2 separate regions of the Homo sapiens genome follow, and region 1 is linked to region 2. The links are contacts of gene promoters, found by promoter capture Hi-C in blood cells and fetal thymus (Javierre and others, 2016). All regions are on one chromosome and are shown on one strand. The core of a region is centred on a gene start or on the middle of the fragment in contact, and the rest is flanking DNA. Distances in the headings are between cores, read along the strand shown.

What was found. Contacts are between HindIII fragments. The CHiCAGO score rates a contact against its expected background, and 5 or more counts as called.
Region 1: a contact is called between a fragment that was not itself captured here and the fragment with the promoter of SMCO3 in region 2, in 1 of 17 cell types (neutrophils). The highest score is 5.6, in neutrophils.

Annotation. Positions count from the first base shown.
Region 1 is chr12:15,021,062-15,024,222 of GRCh38, forward strand. No RefSeq gene overlaps it. Among named protein-coding and RNA genes, the nearest start is that of LINC01489, 21 kb to the left of the region's middle. The HindIII fragment of the contact is 4,908 bases long and covers 1-3,161 here.
Region 2 is chr12:14,812,284-14,815,634 of GRCh38, forward strand. It overlaps SMCO3 (single-pass membrane protein with coiled-coil domains 3), which reads right to left and starts at 1,899. Exons shown (of 2, transcript NM_001013698.2): 1 at 1,843-1,899. All of the region lies in intron 1 of C12orf60 (chromosome 12 open reading frame 60), which reads left to right. The HindIII fragment of the contact is 14,101 bases long and covers 408-3,351 here.

The DNA.
Region 1 (3,161 bases), core at 294-2,793, 210 kb after region 2:
TTTATTTTCAGGTAATGGCACTTCTCCCCGTACCAATTCCCATCCCATATGCAAAGACTTTTGGCTTCCAGACCATGATATGTATATGTAAATATGTGTATATATGCATGTGTGTATAAATATATATAAAATCTCTGTCTGTATGTATAAACACACATTCATATATATACACACTTCATATACCCACACAGATATATGATAGATATGTATATATAACATAATACATGTATTATCTATATGTGTACTATGTATGTATATATAAAATTTTCGGTAACATGAGGTATAGGGTAGTATTAATTTCTGTGTTTTTGTGTTTACGTAAATTACATGGCAACATAGATACCATTTGATTTTTTACTTTTAATTAACTTTTTAATTTGGAGATTATTATAGATTCATATGCAATAATAAAGAGAGATCCTATATACACTTTAATCAAATTTTCCCAATGGTAATATCTTCTAAAACTATAGTACAATATTGACACCAATATACCAATATATAGTACATTTTAATCACCACAGAGACCTCTCGTGTTGCCTGTTTACAGCCACACCTCCTTCCCTCATACTGTCCCCTACCTTTATCCTCTTCAACAGTTGAAAAAACCATTGATCTGTTCTATATCTCTGTTATTTTGTTATTTTAAGAATGTTGCATAGTATGAACTTATTAAGATTGAATTTTTAAAATCAGTATAATTCTCTGGAAATTAATTCAAGTTGTTGCATGTACCAGTAGTTCATTTATTTTCATGGTTAAGAAACATTCTATGGTATAATAGAGTTTGTTACATCAAAAGACATCTGGGATTTTTCTCCCTTCTTGCTGTTACAAATAGAGCTAATATGACCATTTCTGTGCAGGTTTCTGTGTGAACATAAGTTTTCATCTCTCTGTGATAGATATCAAGGAGTACAAATGCTGGGCTATATGATAGTATCACGTTTAGTTTTTTATTTAACTGCAAACTGTTTTTCAGAGGCCTTTGCCAGATATGTGACTTGCAAATATTTTCTCTGAGTCTGTAACTTGTCCCTTCTGTCATTTTACAGGATATTCGGAGGATCAAAGATCTTAATTTTGATGAGGGCTAATTTATCAGTTTTTCCTCTTACAAATTATACTTTTGGTGTTGAGTCTAAGAAGAAACTTGACTAGTCCCAGGTTCCACGTACTTTCTCTTACGTTCTTTCTATAAATGTTAAAATTTCAGCCAGCTGCAGTGGCTCATGCCTGTATCCTACAGCTTTGGGAGACTAAGGTGGGAGAATCACTTGAGGCCAGGAGTTCAAGACCAGCCTGGGCAAGACAACAAGAACTTACCTTTACAAAACATTTTAGCTGGGAGTGGTGGCACATACCTGTAGTCCTAGCTACTCGAGAGGCTGAGGCAGAAGGATGGCTTGAGCCTAGGAGTTTGAGGTTACAGTGAGCTGTGATCAAGCCACTGTACTCCAACCTGGGTGAGAGAGCAAGACCCTGTTTCTAAAAATAAACAAGTAAATGTTAAAATTTCACATTTTACATTCAAGTTTATGCTTCGTTTTTGTATAAGTTAACTTTATATAAGGTGTGAGATATAGGTCAGGTTTTCTTTATCATCAACGGATGCCCGGTTTCTTCAGCACCATTTATTGAAAAGGCAATTTTTCCTCCATTGAACATTTTCTCCTTTGTCAAGAACTAATTTGGATATATTTGTGTGGGCCGACTTCTGGATTCCCTATTCTAGTCCATTAATCTTTGTGTCTATCTCTCTGTCAGTGTCATACTCTGTTGATTACCTCAGCTATATAGTAAGTCTGAATATCAAGAAGAGTAATTTATCCCACTCCACTTTTATTTTTCAAATTATTTTGAAAAATAAAGGTCTAGGGCCTTTCCCTTTTCATATAAATTTTAGAATAGGCTTGTCATATTCTAAATTGTCTACATGAAACTTGCTGATATTTTGACGGAAATTATGATAAACATATAGATAAATTTAGGGAAATTGATATCTTAATTATGTGGAGTTTTCCAGTCCATGAAAATGGTATGTTCTCACCAAGTATTTAAGTTTTCTTTGATTTTTTCCTCAATATTTTATAATTTTCACTACAGATCCCATACATGTTTTGTTACATTTATACCAAAATATTTCATTTTCTTTTAAGAAATTGTTAATAGTATTACATATTTTAGTTTCCACTTGTTCTTTGTCAATATACAGAAATACATTGAGTTTTGTGCACTAATCATTTATCATAGATTCTGTGACCCTATTAAACTGCTCTGGTGGGGGTGGTTTTTTGGAGATTTCTTGGAACTTTGTATATAGACATGATGTCATTTGCACATAGACATAGATTCATTTATTTCCCAATTTGTATTATTTTTGTTTCTTTTTCATGCTTTGTTACTGCAAAGGCTAAAATTTATAGTACCATGTTAAATAATAGTGATGGAAATAGATATCCTTGCCTTGTTTCTGATCTTAGAGGGAAAGGATTCAACCTTTAACCATTAAGCATGATTTTTGCTGTAGATTATTTGTAGATACTCTTTATAAGGTTGGAATAGTTGCCCTTTATTTCTAGTATACTGAGAGTTTTTATCATATATAGAAGTTAAATGTCGTTTAATGCTCTTTTCTGTGTCAATTGATATGATTATGTAATTTTTCTTCTTTAGTCAGTTGTTTCGATAAATTATGTTGGTTGATTTTTGAATATTGAACATATTTGCATATGTGGAATAAAGTCCACTTGGCCATGATGTATTATGACATTTGGTTAAATTTGTTAAGATTTTATTGAATTCTGCTTTTGACTAGGATATGGGTTACAGATATGTGGAAGCTATGACCAACAGATTTCATTTTTCCTGTCAGGTGTGGACTGCCCTAATTGTGTAAAGGTAAAAGTGATTTTAGGGGTACTGGAAAGGGTCTTACCATAATGTTCTCATGCTTTCTGATGACTAAAAAATTTTAAGAAGGAATAAATTATTTTATTCCACAGTCAGAAATAAACAACTTGAATTTTAAAAATCTATGGGCAAAATAGTATATTGGCACGTTTTATTTAACCCTGGGGGAAGTAGTGATAGACATCTCCAACTTTGGCTACCGTGAACAGCAATGTGTAGAAATGTTGGCTATTTGCCACTCCCCCTTG
Region 2 (3,351 bases), core at 649-3,148:
AATACAAAAAATTAGCCGGGCGCGGTGGCGGGCGCCTGTAGTCCCAGCTACTTGGGAGGCTGAGGCAGGAGAATGGCATGAGCCTGGGAGGCAGAGCTTGCAGTGAGCCGAGATTGTGCCACTGCACGCCGGCCTGGGTGACAGAGGGAGACTCCGTCTCAAAAAAAAAAAAAATTTTATTGGTTACGTATACTATTCCCTGTCTTTACCCTGGTTCAATAAATCTAAAATTGTTTCACTATCACTAATATTCTAATGAGCATTTTGATACCCACAGATTTTTTTTCCTCCATTATCTGGATTATTTCCTCAGCATAAGTACCTAGAAGAATTACATAATTAGTGGCATAAGTAATGGGAATTAAATTTTTATTACTTTTGATATGTATCGTAAATTGCATTCCAAAAGCTTTTACTGTGCTACCCCAAATAAATTTTTATAGCAGGATACTGGGTATCCTGCTATAAAATTTTTACAATTTTTATTTTAGATTCAGGAGGTACATACACAGGTTTGTTCCCTGACTATACTGTGTGTTGCTGAGGTTTACTGTGAATGATCCTGTCACCCAGATACTGAGCATAGTGCTGGTATATTTCCCAGTCAAAGATGGTCCTGTTTAAATATTGTTGATTTGGGAAGAGTAAGGTTAAATTTCAAAAAGAGAAGTTCTTGCCTATTTGGAAATACATACTGAAAACATTTAAGATGAAATGAAATGGTCTCAGAGATTTGTTCACAAATAATCTGGAAAGAATAGTGGGGTAGGGTTATAGAGGAAAAAAGATTGGCCTTGTTTTGATAATTTTTAAAGCTGAGTTATGGGTACATGGGAGTTTATTATATTATTGTCTCTACTTCTGTGTATGTTTGAACTTTTCTTATAACAAATAAAAAAGAAAGAAAAAGAAAAACGTGACCCTGTCTAAACCTCTGATGTTTAGTCGTTAGTGCTCTCTGAGGTTTTACATTTCTTCTTGCTGTCACTTTTCTTCACTGTCCAAACAGGGTTTTGCCATCATGCACAGTTTCCTTATCTGGGAGTGTGGAAATAGGGTATAGGTAAAATCAGGAGCTTTTCAGAAGAAAATAACAGCTTCTAACTAGTTCTGAGTCTCCTTTAATTCAAATAAAAATCTGTGGCCTTTAATTAAAACAAAAATTGATCATGATGTGATGATATACTTTCTGATATAAATTCATTTAAAAAATGTTTCTGACCAGAAAGAAGAATATTAAAGTCATTCATCAGCATTTATCAAGTGCTCACTGGTGAAGCCTCTACTGTGTCCCTTGAGGCATTTGAAAACGACAATGTTCCTTGCCCTCAAGACGATAACAGCCTGTTTGGAGACACACAGCAAATGCTCAGAGATATTTAGATACAACATAATTTATGAAGGAGTATAAGTACTATACATTAACCAGTATTAGATTCCACATTCATTCTTTCATAGATAGGTACTGAGTGCCTATATTAATATTAATGACATAGAAGGAAATGTTACTATCCATGTAAACTTCACACATTCACACAGGTATCATTTCATCCTTAATCCTTCTTAGAATTGATGTCTTTACTGCTTCTCTTCCACTCTGACTTAATCAGTCCTAGAAATTGTTAATTTTCTTCCTTCTCTGCTGTCTTCAGAGAAGGCACCAGGAAAGGTTCCTTCCAAATCACAAGGAACATGTCATGGGATCCTCTTATAACAAAGCTGTTTTTTTACTTTATTTTATTTATGGTTAGGATTCAAGACTGACGGGCTAATTCAAATTCCTCCTACTACTGAGAAACAGAGTATTATATCAATACTAATAGAAATATCCACGTTGCTTACCTTGCTGTGTTTCTGAGTTCCGTGGTCCTAGCAGTTGTTTAGGAGTATTGTTAAAGTGCTTTTTCATCTGGTTTCATCTGGATATTTCTGATGGAATGTGATGACTTACAGACTTTGCTAGTCTCTGCTGGGTCCCTCTGCCTGTCTGGTTTATAGGCTATTTCTACATGGCTTGGCCCTCAGAATTCCTTCATTTCCTATTAATAAAAACTTAGTATACAGTATTAAGTTATATAAACTGGAAGACTAATAGTGTGTAAAACTTATTTTTAAATTTCTGTTCTTTAATGGACTTTTTATTGTTGAGAAGCGCTATATAACTGAGCTAATTCAATTTAGTAGAGAAGATGGCTCTTTGATTGCAGCTCTCAGATTTTGGGGTTTTATCTTGTCAACTATTCCAGATACTAAGTTTCTTTTAGCTTCTGTTGCATTTGCACCTCTAACTGTTGCTGATTATTTAAATTCTCAAGATATATAAATGCAGTTACTTGCATCCAATTTTTTTTTCTCTTCTTTCCAGCTAGGAGTTCTCCTCTTTGTCATTCTTTCTCTTCCTGTGTTTGTAAATTGTCTTGACAATATAAAAACCTTAAAGTCCAACTTCACTCTTTTCCCTGAAAGCTCAGATCAGTCTTCCCTGCTGCTTCTTCCCAGCTTCAGTCTTCAGACCCGTTAATTCCTCCACAGCAAAGACACCTGAGTGGCAGGGAAATCACTCAGCCCCAGTGTAACTTAGTGAAAGACAGCAGGCTTTACACTCAGACAGTCCTGGTTTTGTGTACTCCAAGTACCACTTACTAGTCATGTAATCCTAAGAAAGTCACTTAGCCTGAGTTTTCCCATTGGTGTAATATGAGTATTAGTTAATAATTTATGGATTAAATGGGATAGTGTTTATAAAGTAATTGGCATAGTGGCTGATATGTGGCAAAATCTTATGAAACGGTAGCTATTCATATATTAACAACAGTATCTCCTGGTGGAGGGGAGAGGAGAATGGGTGGGTACAGGATACAGAATCAAAATGCCAGACAGGCAGACAGGAAACTTTAAAATCTAAAGATGCTGCCCTGTGATTCTAAAGAAGGGCTAAGTGGGGTCACTTTTCTACTTTTGTCCCAGTGGATCATCTTGCCCTTGATGTATCCAGGGCCCCACCACGTACGGATGTGTGGCCAGTGTATCTGAACTAGGTATGGATGTTAAGTAGGATTTTAATAGATGTTTGGGGAGGATGGTGGTATAGAGGAAATAATACAGATAGAGGGAACACTGAGAGCAAAGGAGCTGAACCAAAAATTGTAGAACATTTTCAGGGAACAAAAACCAACCTGCTGGTGATACAGGGTGTAAGTGGGAGCAGTTAAGGGAAGGTAAGTCATGGAAAATTGAAAATAGTTTGTAGATAGCCTTAGATGTCATGCTAGGAAATTGTATTTCATTCTGTAGATAATAATGAACCATTAAAAAATCCTTTTAATTATGGTGTAATATTTGGAGATTTGG